Linked DNA regions of Homo sapiens: region 2 is linked to region 1. Evidence: promoter capture Hi-C in human tissues and cell types (Jung and others, 2019). All regions are on one chromosome and are shown on one strand. The core of a region is centred on a gene start or on the middle of the fragment in contact, and the rest is flanking DNA. Distances in the headings are between cores, read along the strand shown. Region 1 holds the start of COBL (cordon-bleu WH2 repeat protein). Region 2 overlaps COBL (cordon-bleu WH2 repeat protein).

What was found. The method cuts DNA at HindIII sites, captures the fragments that hold promoters and counts their contacts. A contact is called where the count stands out against the background at its distance.
Region 2: a contact is called between a fragment that was not itself captured here and the fragment with the promoter of COBL in region 1, in 3 of the 25 tissues and cell types used here (dorsolateral prefrontal cortex, hippocampus and liver).

The regions. Positions count from the first base shown.
Region 1 is chr7:51,313,195-51,319,260 of GRCh38, reverse strand. It overlaps COBL (cordon-bleu WH2 repeat protein), which reads left to right and starts at 2,452. Exons shown (of 13, transcript NM_015198.5): 1 at 2,452-2,668. The coding sequence starts at 2,628. LOC124901633 (a long non-coding RNA gene) reads right to left here and starts at 2,277. Exons shown (of 2, transcript XR_007060324.1): 1 at 2,037-2,277; 2 at 929-1,214. RefSeq lists enhancers at 1,008-1,600, 1,601-2,194. The HindIII fragment of the contact is 18,220 bases long and covers 1-6,066 here.
Region 2 is chr7:51,272,321-51,279,106 of GRCh38, reverse strand. The region is part of intron 1 of COBL (cordon-bleu WH2 repeat protein); the gene reads left to right. Among named protein-coding and RNA genes, the nearest start is that of COBL, 41 kb to the left of the region's middle. RefSeq lists enhancers at 3,006-4,002, 4,438-4,937, 4,938-5,439. The HindIII fragment of the contact is 6,486 bases long and covers 612-6,786 here.

The DNA of each region.
Region 1 (6,066 bases), core at 1,203-3,702:
TTCTGAGTAGATGTCTGGGGGCCTTCCAAGGATCTGAGGTTGTCCAGGCCTAGGGTCACCTGGGCCTTTTTCCTAGAACAGCAAGTTGCATCTTGGCCTGGAGGTGGCACGTCACCTCCTTCTCATTGTTTTTCTGGATGTTGAGGAGCTCTCTTACTCTTCACCATCCACCTGCTTCGGGCTTCCTGTTGCCATCTGTGCTCAGCATCTGAGACACTGGGTCACTCCGGGCTTCTTTTGCTCCATGTCCCCACCATACTTCCTCTTGCTGCCTCTGCCAGGTGCTTGGAGTATGTGTCACCTGTGAGGTGGACTTCTCCTTAGGGATTTCAATGGGGTCTGGCTCACAGTGCCTAGTCTAGTTTTCAGCTCTGGCCCCTCCTGGGCAGCCCTTCCCATGGTGGTGTCCAGAGCAAGGAGGGGCTCCCCAGATTTTGGGAGAGACTCTCTAATACCCACACCCAAGGTGCAAGAAGAGATTCATTCATTCAGTGCACCCTTTGTTTACTGAGCACTGACTCCACCCTGCTAGGCACTGCCCTAGATGCTGGGGGTGATAAATCAGACAAAGGCCCAGCGCTTGCTAAGATCACATGCTAGGGAGGAGACCAATGGCAAACACATGAGCAAAATATATGCGGAATAGGATATGTTATTTATGTTTTTTATTCCATTTATATATAATGTATATACATATTTATAAGTTTACATAAATACAAATTTTATGCATTCATATAAACATGTCTATAAATATAACACATTACATGTAAACATTTCTTTATAAACTTACATTTAAATATAAACACACACATATATACACACATACACATATACACACACACATATATATATACACATACACACATACACACACACATACAGTGACAAATGCTCAGAAGAAAATTAGGACAAGGCAGCAGTCAGGAGCTTGAGTGAGAGCTGCTTTTATTTTGTGTTTTAAGACAGGATCTCACTCCATTGTCCAGCCTGCTCCCCACTCGCCGCCCCGCCCCGTAGCTGGGATTACAGGTGTGTGCCACCATGCTCCGCTAATTTTTTTATTTTGTAGAAAGTTCTCCCAGGTTGCACAGGCTGGTCTCCGACTCCTGAGCTCAACTGCTCCTCCGGCCTTGGCTTCCCTGAGTGCTGAGGTTACAGGTGTAAGCCACTGTGCTCCGCAGGGTGCTTTTAGACAGAGAGGCCAGGAAAGGCTCCTTGGGGAGACCACGGGATGAAAAGGAGGAGGAAGAGCACTGTGGAGCAGCATCCCAGCCAGAGGCCCTGAGCCGGGAAAGCGCTCCACTCATGGGAGGCTGGGCTGCAGGGAAGTGAGCCCCAGGGCCACCTGGGGACTTAGGAAACCTTCTAGGTGGGAGCAGGGAGCACCCAAGATCTGCCAGCCACGAGTAAGGACTCACATTTTGCATATAGACTGGTCTGCCCCCCCTTCAGTTAATGAGAAAGCAGGGGATCAGAGGGAGGAAGGCTGCGCAGGCCTCTGGATACCTCATCCAATGACAAGATCGCAAGGGGAGCGTCACCCCCAACGCTATCAGGCTCGCCCGATCTGGCCTCTTGTTGGTCTTTTATTCGAGTCATTGAAACCATATGAAACTGCCACTTTTATAGGTCAGCCCATCATACCAACCAAGATCTTAGAGAGTGGAGGTGAAGTTGGGCAGATAAGGGACCTCTGGCTGACTTGCTCTGGGCCCCGGCGTGGCCGGCAGGACCTGCATATCTGCCCGCCAGCCCGCACTGGAGTGGCAGGGTTGTGCCACAGTAGCGCCCAGTGAATCAGGTTGGCAAACTTAAGCGAGCATTCACCTAGAGCGAGTGAGTTGTTAGCAAAGCGAGGCCGCGCTCCAGCCCGCACTGTTTCTGATTCCGTGGGACCTGGTGGGCCCCAGAAATCTGCATTTCTAACAAGTTCCCAGGTGTTCCTGACGCTCCCGGTCGGGACTCCCACTTTGCGACCCTACGCACTAGACATTTGCTGCACGGATAAAGGTCAGAGAGCGGTGCCGGACACTCACTTCTCACCCTCCAACGTCAGTCCTCCCGGGCTGGTCCGCCCACCTCGCCCTCGCACGGCCTCCAGGCTCCAGGTGGTTCCCCTCCCCCAACTCCGCCAGGAGGCGCCGGCCCCGGGATCCCCCACTCCGCCCAGAGAGGGTCGCGCTCCCCCCAGGGGTGGAGGAGCACGGGGAGAAGCCCTCTGCCGCACCCGCGGGTGTCGGTGCAGGGCCCAGGTGCCGGAGGATTCCTTCCCCGGACGCTCGCCGCGGGCCGGGTCGGGACTCTGAGCAGGCGGGGCGGGGCGGGGCGGGGGCGGCGCTCCGGTGGGCGCGGCAGAGCAGCCGGGGCGGGGGCGCGGCGCACCTTGCTCCCGGCGCCCCCGCCCCGCGCCGCCGCCAGCCCCTCCCTGCGCTCCCGGCGCCCCCGCCCGCTAGAGACGATTCCAGCCCCTTCCGTCCGCCGCGCTCCGCCGCTGTCCTCCGCCGGCCCGCGTGGGAGGACGATGGGTCAGCGCGGAAAAAGTGAATGAGGGCGGCAGCGGTGGCGGCGGTAGCCAGCGCCTGACTCGGCGGGCCCGGAGCACCGCCCGCGTCCCGGCCCCCGGCACCATGGACGCGCCGCGCGCCTCGGCGGCCAAGCCCCCGACCGGGTAAGCGGCCCCGCGGTCGGGCGGGGTGGAGAGGGGGCTTCCCTGGGCTCGGACGCCCGCGTCCGCACCGCGCGCTCCCGGGCAGGGCGCCCTCTCTGCCGCCCCAGCGGGTGCTGGTGGTAGTGGTGGAGCAGGTGGTGCGGTGCTGGTGTTGGGTGCTGGTGTTGGGTGGTGGTGCGTGCTGTGTACTTTGGGCACCCGGGTCGTTGCCCAGGTAACCGTGTCGGGCCGGGGCCGGAGCGCACTTTTCGCGCGGGGTGGTTTGTATGCAGGCGTCCTTATGGGGGTCCCCGCCAGCACAGCCCCCACTCAGCTCCGAGCTTTCCTCAGGCCCCCCAAGTGTTTGCCGTAGGGGTGGAGCGGGGAGCGAGGGGACGCCCGGCCTTTGACTCCGGCCTCTTCCCTGCGGGCTTGCCCCTGGCCGGTTCCCATCAAGTCTTCCCTCTCCCGGCCTCGGCGGCAGCCCCAGGATCGGCTCTCCCGGCAGCGTGGAGGGGAGGGCTCCCCGGCTTCGCAGCCGCCCGGGCCCCGCGTTCTCGGAAGGTGTTCGGATTGCCCGGAGGGTTTCATGGCAGCAGCTCTCCCTCCCTGCCTTTATTCCAGGGTCTCCCCTGGCAGTGGAAGGGGCGTCCTAGTGGGGCCAGGCCTGAGGCGCAGACATCCGTAGCGGACCCGCGAGTCTGGCGGCCCATCCCTGTCTTCGCGATTCCGCTTTTGCCCAAACCTCTCCCGGTTTCTGTTTGCTATCCCCACACCTTGCGTGCAGGGATTACACGTCACATTCAGGATTTGACTCTCAGAAAGAGTAATTTCCCTCAAACAGGACGAGCAGCCCTGCTCATTATTCAGACCCCGAGCCAGGTGCGCCGTGCTCATCCCGGCCAGCGGTGCAGGCTGGGCCGCGGGGTAGCGCGCAGTCCCGGTGGACTTTGTAGTTTTCAGCGCGGCGCGCCGGGGACCTTCGAACTCGCTCGCTCGCCTGGAGCAAATGTGTATGAGTCTTGCAAATGGAATGAGGGTTGGGGTGAGCCCTGCACCTGCTTACTGAATGGGCCCACTTTCTGCTATGGCAACTGGACTTGAAGGAGGCAGCTTTGGGGACAACAAATCTTTTTTTCTGTTACAGTTGTGTCCCACTGACTCACCCTGCCCATGTGCCCATAGGCGGGCGTGTTGCCCAAGTGTGTAAAAGACTTTCAGTCGGGCTCTTTTTAAAATTTTAAAGTTTTCCTTTAATGCCAGGAAAAGGTGAGCCAGGTTAGCAAATCAAATAATCCTGAAGCTGAGGAATGTTAAAAAGAAGTTTTCTTTCTCTCTCTCTTTTTTTTTTTTTGCAGTGCACTTACTGGTGGTTATATAATTCTCTTTGAACAAACAAATTCCCCAGAAAGAAAGTAAATGTGGGAAATCCTTTTTCATGGTAATAGGCATCCCAAAATAACAGGGAAATGTGAAACAGAGGTATCTTTAAATCTGTGGCTTTCATAGCCTATTAAATGAGCCTATTTAAGGACACTGAATTATTTTGTCACTATCACCTTATAAATAAATATGAAGACAGAGAGAACATTTAAAAGGCCGGCAAAACTGTATCCAAAGAGTATCTGTAAGATCCTTGAAGGGAGTCTAATGATAGAAGTGAAAGGACTTACCCTAAGAGCGTGGCACTCTTTTCAGCCTGGTACTGTGTGGCAAGAGGTAGTCGAGGGCTGGCCTTCTCAGGGCTTCCCAGAGCTCTGATTGGCTTTCATATTTGAATTGCAAAGTAAAACTAAGGATTTTTGCTATGGAAAACATGAAATTATTCCTGATGCATTCAGTTCTTTCCCTCACTCATATCCAGTGTCTAATTTACTTGTCCGAACATCTTTGTCCAAGAAATGTAGACATATTATTTTTAACTTCTATTGTTCTCACTTTGTCATTTGTTAATACTTTCAGTGAAGAAGCATCAAGAAAATGTTAATATCCTTATATTTTTTCAGACAAGAATTACGTGTTTAATAAGCAATTTTGTGTTCAAATCTGAGGAGATAAATGGTGTTAGGTCTTCGAATATTTTATATAATTTAGGTGTATGCTTGCTAATTATAAAGGTTAGATATTGCTGTGAAATTTGTGGCTTTAGTACATTATTGGTGGCAGGCAGATTCTGTTGGCTCTTCACTGAGATTACTCCTCTGTTCCCTGAGATTAAGGCAGTGTTTGCAGTGTGCTTGAGGGAAATTTGTTTTCCATCTGATTCTGCAACCGTTTATTATAAAATCAAACTTTCAGTAAGCCTCTGTCTTCCCACATGATAACAAACTGATGTGGTGAAGCTGTTGCTGTTGCTGAAACTACCACTCCTCCTTGTGTTGTATAGAAACAAGCTAGACTGGGTGCAGTGAATTAACGAGATTTCACCCTGTGGCCTACAAACGCTCTTCTAGAAGATTACTGAAGGGAGATAGGTTGGTGAATGTAAACTCACTGACTCTGTGTCTGGCTAAATTATTAACAGGTAGTTATTAGTTATCTTTGTGAAAAACACAAATATACGTTTTTACTTGGATTGAAATTGTATGTTTTTTACTAGGAATTTCATTAAAACAGTGATGTATGACTTCCTTGACTCCTGGGGAAAGTGTTCTTTTAGGAAAGAGGCTGTGTGCAAAAACTAACAAGTCAGACTTGATGTGACTTTTAGGGAGTTTTAGAGCTCAGTTGAAGTATAAGAATTGACAGAATACTCAGAACACAAGTAAAGGCAAATTGCCTTTTGGTGAGGTTTTGAAGTATATTTAACTCTCTACTTTATCTGTTTACTTTGCGTTTGTCTGAATATTTATAGGAGCCATCCCAGTAGTCGGCTGTTACAGAACACAGGGCTAAATTTCCCATTGGACCCTCTGTTAATAAAGGACAGAAGAAGGCTTGCTGTTTGGCAGGACCATGCTTAATTTTTTTTTTCCTATGGAGGAAAGACATGTTTCTGTAGAATACAGTAATCTCCAATGACATGAAATGTCAAAACAGCTGGTGCATTTGATCAATGGCTGTATTCAAGCAGTTTGCTCATGTAAAAATCAGTGGAAGTTTTGCTAATCAGTTTCGTCAAAATGTGGACTTCATGTACACATAGCTGTTATTCATTTCTTTGCATAAATTTATATTTATTTAATCAAGTTATTAGAACCAAAAGAAATTTTAAAAAATTAATCGAAGTGGGTAACTTGAGCTACTCTAGTCCTGTCGGTGCCGCACATAGTATTAAGTGTAGAAGGCCTGTGACTCTTGGTAGTGACATGGGGCAGCCACAGTGACATTTTGTATGAAACCCTCATAAGCATGCAGATATTAAGAAAATATTAACTCTACACCATAATAGGAAGCTTAGGTTTCTAGGCCTTTGGCTT
Region 2 (6,786 bases), core at 2,605-5,104, 42 kb after region 1:
AAGCCAAGCCATAGGATTATTCACTGTCAGTGCAGGACTAGTACACAGGGCAGGCCCTGATGGTAATTTGAGTATGACAACAGCTGTATCACTCCTTACAGGACTGCAAGTGTCTTAGGAGAAAAGCATTTCCCCGGCCACCTGCCGCCTGCTGCGTGGGTGCTGTGATTAGTCACAATGTGCATTGTGCTGGGTGTGTTTTGTAGTTTTGTTGTTCCTGTAATTGACAGTTATCTCCAAACTGAAATCGTCTGGAAAAGCAGATGCTACACGTTGGGGGATTTTAATTTTCCTGTTCTCTAGATGATTGGTGTCATTTTCATACTGTAAAAAAGTGTGCTGTTATTTTTGCTTTTGGTAGAAGGGCACATGGTGGGGCTGGTCTATCACTGCCTGGATTTGGAGGCTTGAGTCAAGAACCTGTCTAGGCCAGGTGCCGTGGCTCACGCCTGTAATCCCAGCACTTTGGGAGGCTGAGGTGGGTAGATCACCTGAGGTCAGGAGTTCGAGACCAGCCTGGCCAACATGGTGAAACCCCGACTCTAATAAAAATACAAAATTAGCTGGGCGTGGTGGCACACGCCTGTAATCCCAGCTACTTGGGAGGATGAGGCAGGAGAATTACTTAGAACATGGGAGGCAGAGGTTGCAGTGAGCCGAGATCGCGCCATTGCACTCCAGCCTGGCGACAGAGTGAGACTGTGTCTCAAAAAAAAAAAAAAAAAAAGATCCTGTCTAAATATAGCATGCTTGTCTCCCCAGGCAGCTGGGAGGAGGGGCCTGCATGATCATAGATGAGGGTGCCTTGTCCACCTGGCTCTGGGCTCTCACTGAGCATGCTCTTCCTTGGGACGGCTTCTCAATTCAGCTAATCTCCAGATTAGATTCACCCTGTTTGGTGTGCATGTGTGTGGGAGTCTCTGTGAATGTGGAGCTTCTAAATTTATTTATCATTTGATACGGGTATTGCGTTCTAGTATTTGCAGAGCTGGCACTCAAGGCTGGCCACTATGTTTTTAGTTCAGAGATATGATTCAGAGAGATGATTGTAGTTGAGACGTCCCTAGGGGCCCGCTGTTGATTTGTTGTGTCTCTCTGCTGTACTTCACGCAGGCACAGAGAAGAGATCAGTAAATAACGAAATGAATCTGCCCTATGATGTTGACAGATATGTCCTCTCTTACTTGCTAGTTCCTCAGAGGCAGCTTGGGAATATTGTTGGGTGGTCAGAAAGTATTTAGAGAGTCTGGGCTACAAGTGACATGACTTGTCTGTCCATCTGCTGTGCCTCTTGAGTGTTCTTACCTGGCTCTGTGCCCCCTGCTCTCACAATGCCCTGCCGTGCTGGATCCCTGTAGCAACACTGTAGGGGCGGCATTGTTACCACCTCCATTTGGCAGTGTAGAAACTACAATGGGCAGAGTATTCCACCCTTGTATCTCTCTAGCAGCCCGTCCATCCCTTCCTCTAGCCCGCTGTCCAACTTGCTATTTGTTAGTGTCTAATATACACACCATGAATTAGCCCAAAGTCGGGTGGGCGGGATGAGGGCACCGACTCTTGCTGCGTGTGAGCTGAAGTATCAGAGAGAGATTACCACTGTGTGCTCAACAGTCCTGTCGTCAATTTTTAAAGATATATTTTTTAACTTTTTATTTTGGAATAACAAAGAATTCCCACGTCGTCTTCAGCTAGATGCCACAGATGTTAACAGGTGTGTTTGCTCTATTCTCTCTCTCCTTCCCTCACAAGCACATGTGTGTATTTACACTTCTGCATGCACACATGCACACACACAGATGCACACACATACCTTCTCTCTTAGAGCAAGGCACACATATTCATGAACTCACCCTCAGGCTTCCGTGAGAGCAGACCTAGCCCATTTTAACTTAGTCGGTCATTGGCTTGGGTCCCTGCGCATGTGTGGCCGTCATGGAAACAGGGAAGGCCTTGTTCTGTGCCTTGGCAATGAGCATCCCTGGCCTGGCTCTGGGAAGGATGACTGGCCTGTGATCCTTTCCTCCAGGTGCTGCTTTGGTAGAGGTTGATGATGGGGCCTCAGTGGAGCTGGTGTGAGGACAGGAGGGCTGTGTCATTGTCTTCTGGCCCTCACCATCTGTGTGTTCGCTGCTCCCAGATGCATCTCCTTTTCTGTGGTGCCCTCTCCTACATTTCACCTCTTAGCTGGTCAAATCTTATGAGCCTCAGCTGACTCCTCTCCCTTGTATGGTAAAAGCCACCTCTGAACTCTTCCCTTTCTGGGCCCAGGCACCCTTAAGGGCCAGCCAACACCAGCGTCCAGCTTTCCAGAATGCCCTTGGGTTTTCCTCCCATCTCCTGGAGGTGTCTTCCTTCTTACCTGCCTGCTCACTCTGCAAGGCCTGTTCACATCTCCCCTTTGCCCCACACAGCTGCAGCTCCCAGCCACCCCAGCTCAGCCCTGGCAGTGTTTACTGCGGGCAGTGGGTTGTGTCTGTGTCTCCTTTCATCCCCCACACCTTGTGCAGTCCCTGGCGGGTTGGAGGTGTTCCTTAAAGCTTGTGGAAGGTTTGAACGATAAATGACAAGGACTGGCATTATCAAGAGGGGAAGGAAAAGCCTGAAAAGCAAGAAAGCCCACAGTGGATAGGGCTTGTGGCAGGCAAGGCCACCTGTGTGCAGTCCCTGGGTATGGCCCGTCCCCGGCCGGAGGAGCTTCCACAGGGTGACTCCTTTCATAGAAGCTCAGGTTCCATTCGCCTTTCCCAGAAGGAACCCCAGGACAGGGCTCCCAGGAAGCCACAGCAGGACCAACTTACATAGCTCTTGGTGCTGCTGCCTTTTACTGCCACGACAGTCCCCAGCCTCCCTGAAACAGTTACTCATGGATTAAGAAATGTCTGAGAACAGCTTCAAAATGTGCTGTGCATGAGTGCTGTCACCCAGCCCATATCTGTGAATGCCAATTAAAATGGGCTCCTTAGAATTCCTGTGTTATTGTAAACAGAAGAAGTTGCATGGTCCCAGAGCCTCAGTGCACATTTTCATTTATGAGCTTGATATTTGTTTCTTCAAACAATTCTTCCCCCAATGTTTATCATTTAGAAAAGCCAAAGGGCTTTTGTAGGAAAAAGGATGAGGCTCATTTCCATTGAAGAGTAAATATAAGGAAGATAAGGGCTTCTTTATTAAAACAGACAACCTCACAAAACCCCGGCAGAGCAGGTCAGAGGAAAAGAAAACAAGCAGGGGAGAGAGAGGCCTACAGCCCCTAATCAGGCTGTGGAAACATTCTCATCAATCAGCATGGAGACAGGGGCCTTGATTTTCCACTGTGAGGGGAAGGTGGAATCGCCAGCCTTCTGGGCTCTGTGTTTTCACCGTTGTTGGGACAGGCCTCCTGGGTGGGCTGCGTGCGGAGCTCACAAGAGCAGTCACGGCTGGTGGTGGCTGGTGGCGGCTGGTGGTGGTTGGTGGCGGCTGGTGGTGGCTGGTGGCAGCTGATGCCAGTGGCGGTGGTGGTGGTGGCAGGTGGAGCTGGAGTGCACTGTTGCTGAGGGTGCCTTGAGAGAGACCCAGGGGAGAATTCCCCCCAGACCTGCTCTGCATGGGCTGCGGTGACCACATGTGGCCGTGGAGCTGGGATCTCAGAACAGCCAGGCCCTGTCAGACAGAACTGGAGGCAGTGGTTCCCCAGCAATCAAAAACAAATCCTCGTTGTAAAAAGGGAGTACTGAACCTTGACATAGAACTTTCTTCAATTTCGCACAGCATTACTGGCAGAGGGAAAAAACCAGGAGGATGGAGGGGACTTGTGCCTCAAAATTTGGATACAAATCAGCCTTGTTCTTGCCTCTCCCTCAGGTCCTTTGCAGGAGGGCAGCCTGGACACTGTGCAACTGTCCCCTCCACAGCCAGCCCTTGGGCCTCTCCCCTCCAGCCCGCAGGGGTGACCCCTCTCTCTCATGTGCAGAGCAGAACAAACATGGAGCGGCTCCACGTGCGTCCCTCACCTGTCCTGAGCCTCTCCCGTCCTCTTCAGCCCTGTCTTTGTTGCTTCTCACTGCTCTGTCTCCCTGGAAGATGGAGGTTCAGGCAGCAAAGAGTTGAATTGCACGGCCAGATGATTTGTATTTTAATTTGTTAATATCGGTGTTTCCCACTTCAGACAAAGCCATGTGCGTACATATGCAGACCTAAAAATCAAATCAAATGATTGCTATCAGAGAATTCTTTTTACTGAAAGTATCTCAGAAAACCCTGAAAGTATCTCAGATTCCCAAATGCTGATCTTCTATCTTATATTTTAAAACATGACTGGTTTACAAAAATTAATACTTACACTGTTGTTTTCTAGAATACGTCTGTTGTACAAGGCATGGCATCCCTGAACTTGGAGTTTTCATATGAAAGTCATTTATTGAATGAAAATCCTCCACTGCACAAATAGGAAAGGACATTTTGAGCCTACGCACAAAAGTGTGCTTAATGATGGGCTAGAGTATTTCAGCTGAGCTCCTGAGGCTCAGCCTTCCATAGTAAAGTCACTGCATCTGTGAAAAAGTGGTCTTCTCTGCCCAGCACCAGACATCCATTCTGTGGGGTACAATTCTTTCCTTCTTTCATGGATAATGAATGGTCAGCTTGGCTGGTTTCTTTGAAAGCAAAGACTAAGAAGTGGAATGCAGTCAGGAGCCTGTTGTGTTGATGAGACAAACAGATGAAGGGGAGCTCACCTAGAGCTGCCTCAGGACCATGCCCAGGAGGACACATTCAAGATTTTGGCGGTGATACAGTCAGCACTGGAGGACAAAGGACAGGGTGCTCTTCTCCTGCGAGCAGTGAGGGTCATGTGCAGTGTGTTTGGGAGGGAAGGTGTGTTTGGGAGGGAAGGCGTTGCAGCAAGGCTGGGTGTGAGTTTGAAGTGCTGTGTGTCTACCGTGTGGGGAGTGAAGCGGGAGGCGGCCCATGCGATGCACAGCTGGCAGCTGCAGGTCCTGTGCTGGGGAAGGGGAGCGAGGGCCTCACTTAAGGCATGGACTGGGGGGAACTGTGAGCATGGTGGTATTCGAGGCTACGATGTCCTGTGGTCTAAGGAGAGCATTACAGGGAAGGGAGGAGAGCCCAGAACAGATGACTGAAGAAGATCGCATTTGATGGGTGAGGGGGACCCAACTGCTACAGGGGGAGTTGGCGTCACCAGAGAAAACAGCACTGGGTACGTGAACTGTGGCGGTTCGATGACACTTCAAAATATAAACACCTAAAATAGGTTTTATGAGGCGTTGGCATTCCCAAAACACTGAAGTGTTTAAGTATTTTGGGAATTGTATTTAATTATTGAACAATTTAGGCAAGTTAGCTATTTTCAAATAGGTAAAATTAGTTTGTCTCTCTGGTAGAACTTGTCATTCATTTTTAGAATCTTGAGTTTTAAATGCCAGATAGATCCAGCTGCTATAAATATGCTGCAGATGTAGCTGTCCAGTCACTCAGACAGGCAAGAGCTGATGATTGAGGACTAATTTTCAGTCTAACGGCAGAAGCAGGTGTCACAAGGTAAGTCAGCTTCAAGGCTTCATTCCCTGATGTCAATGATGACTTCCTTAGGAATGTCACTGCAGATATGGGTTTGTTTTTGTTTTTTGGTAAATGAGGAATTTTAGATAGTGGTAGCTACTGTTCACCACACATAACCTTTGTAACAAGCTAGAATATACATTAAAAATTCACAAAGTATGCAGCTTTGTATTTTGAGATAACTTTCTTTTCTTTTTCTTTTTTTTTTTTTTTTTTTGAGATGGAGTCTTATTCTGTTGCCCAGGCTGGAGTGCAGTGGCACGATCTCAGCTCACTGCAACCTCTGCCTCCAGGTTCAAGCGATTCTCCTGCCTCAGCCTCCCAAGTAGCTGGGATTACAGGCATGTGCCACCATGCCCGGCTGATTTTTGTATTTTTAGTAGAGGTGGGGTTTCACCATGTTGGCCAGGCTGATCCTGAACTCCTGACCTCAAGTGATCCTCCTACCTTGGCCTCCCAAAGTGCTGGGATTATAGGCATGAGCCACTGCGCCTGGCTTTGAGGTAACTTTTCAATGCCCTATTATTTGACTTTTATTCCTTAAGAGAAGGATGTTTTTGTTGTTGTTGTTGTTGTTGTTGTTGTTGTTGTTGTTGGTATTGTGTTCCATAGATGAAAACGCAGACATAGAGAGGGGGAGAAATGACTGGACTTGTGTAGTATTAAGTTGTCTTTACCTGCAGATAAGAGCAGAATTGTGACCCTAGAATTGTGAATTACATGTCTTAGCCCAATGGCTTGTCTTGGGCTTTAATTTAGACATGGGGAGACTCCCAAAGTACAAGCTTTGGTGTGGAAATGCCAGAAAAACATCATTTGAAGAAATGCCTCAGGCCCTGTGTGTCCAATTTGTGCAACCCTTTGCCTCTTTGAGTGTTTTAGAGGTCCAAGCGCAATTTCACTGATATTTTCAGATCTAGATTGGAACTTGAAGAGCCATGGATTAGTCTCTTTCCTGAGTGTGCATGTTCCCAATATTCTGAATTTTCCTTTTTAAAGCTCCAAATTTAAATGATTTTTTTCTTGCGTCGCCCATGATGGAGTGATAAATAGGGAGATAAATACTGATGATTCTTCTAATTTTAACTATTTTGTAGTTCTGGCTTCCCTGGAGTGAGTATAATAGAGTAGTTGATGAGGATTGCCTCTTGGAATCGGACTGCCTGGGATGAAACATACACTATGAATTGTGAGACCTTGCGAAGTTATTAAAACCCAAGCTCA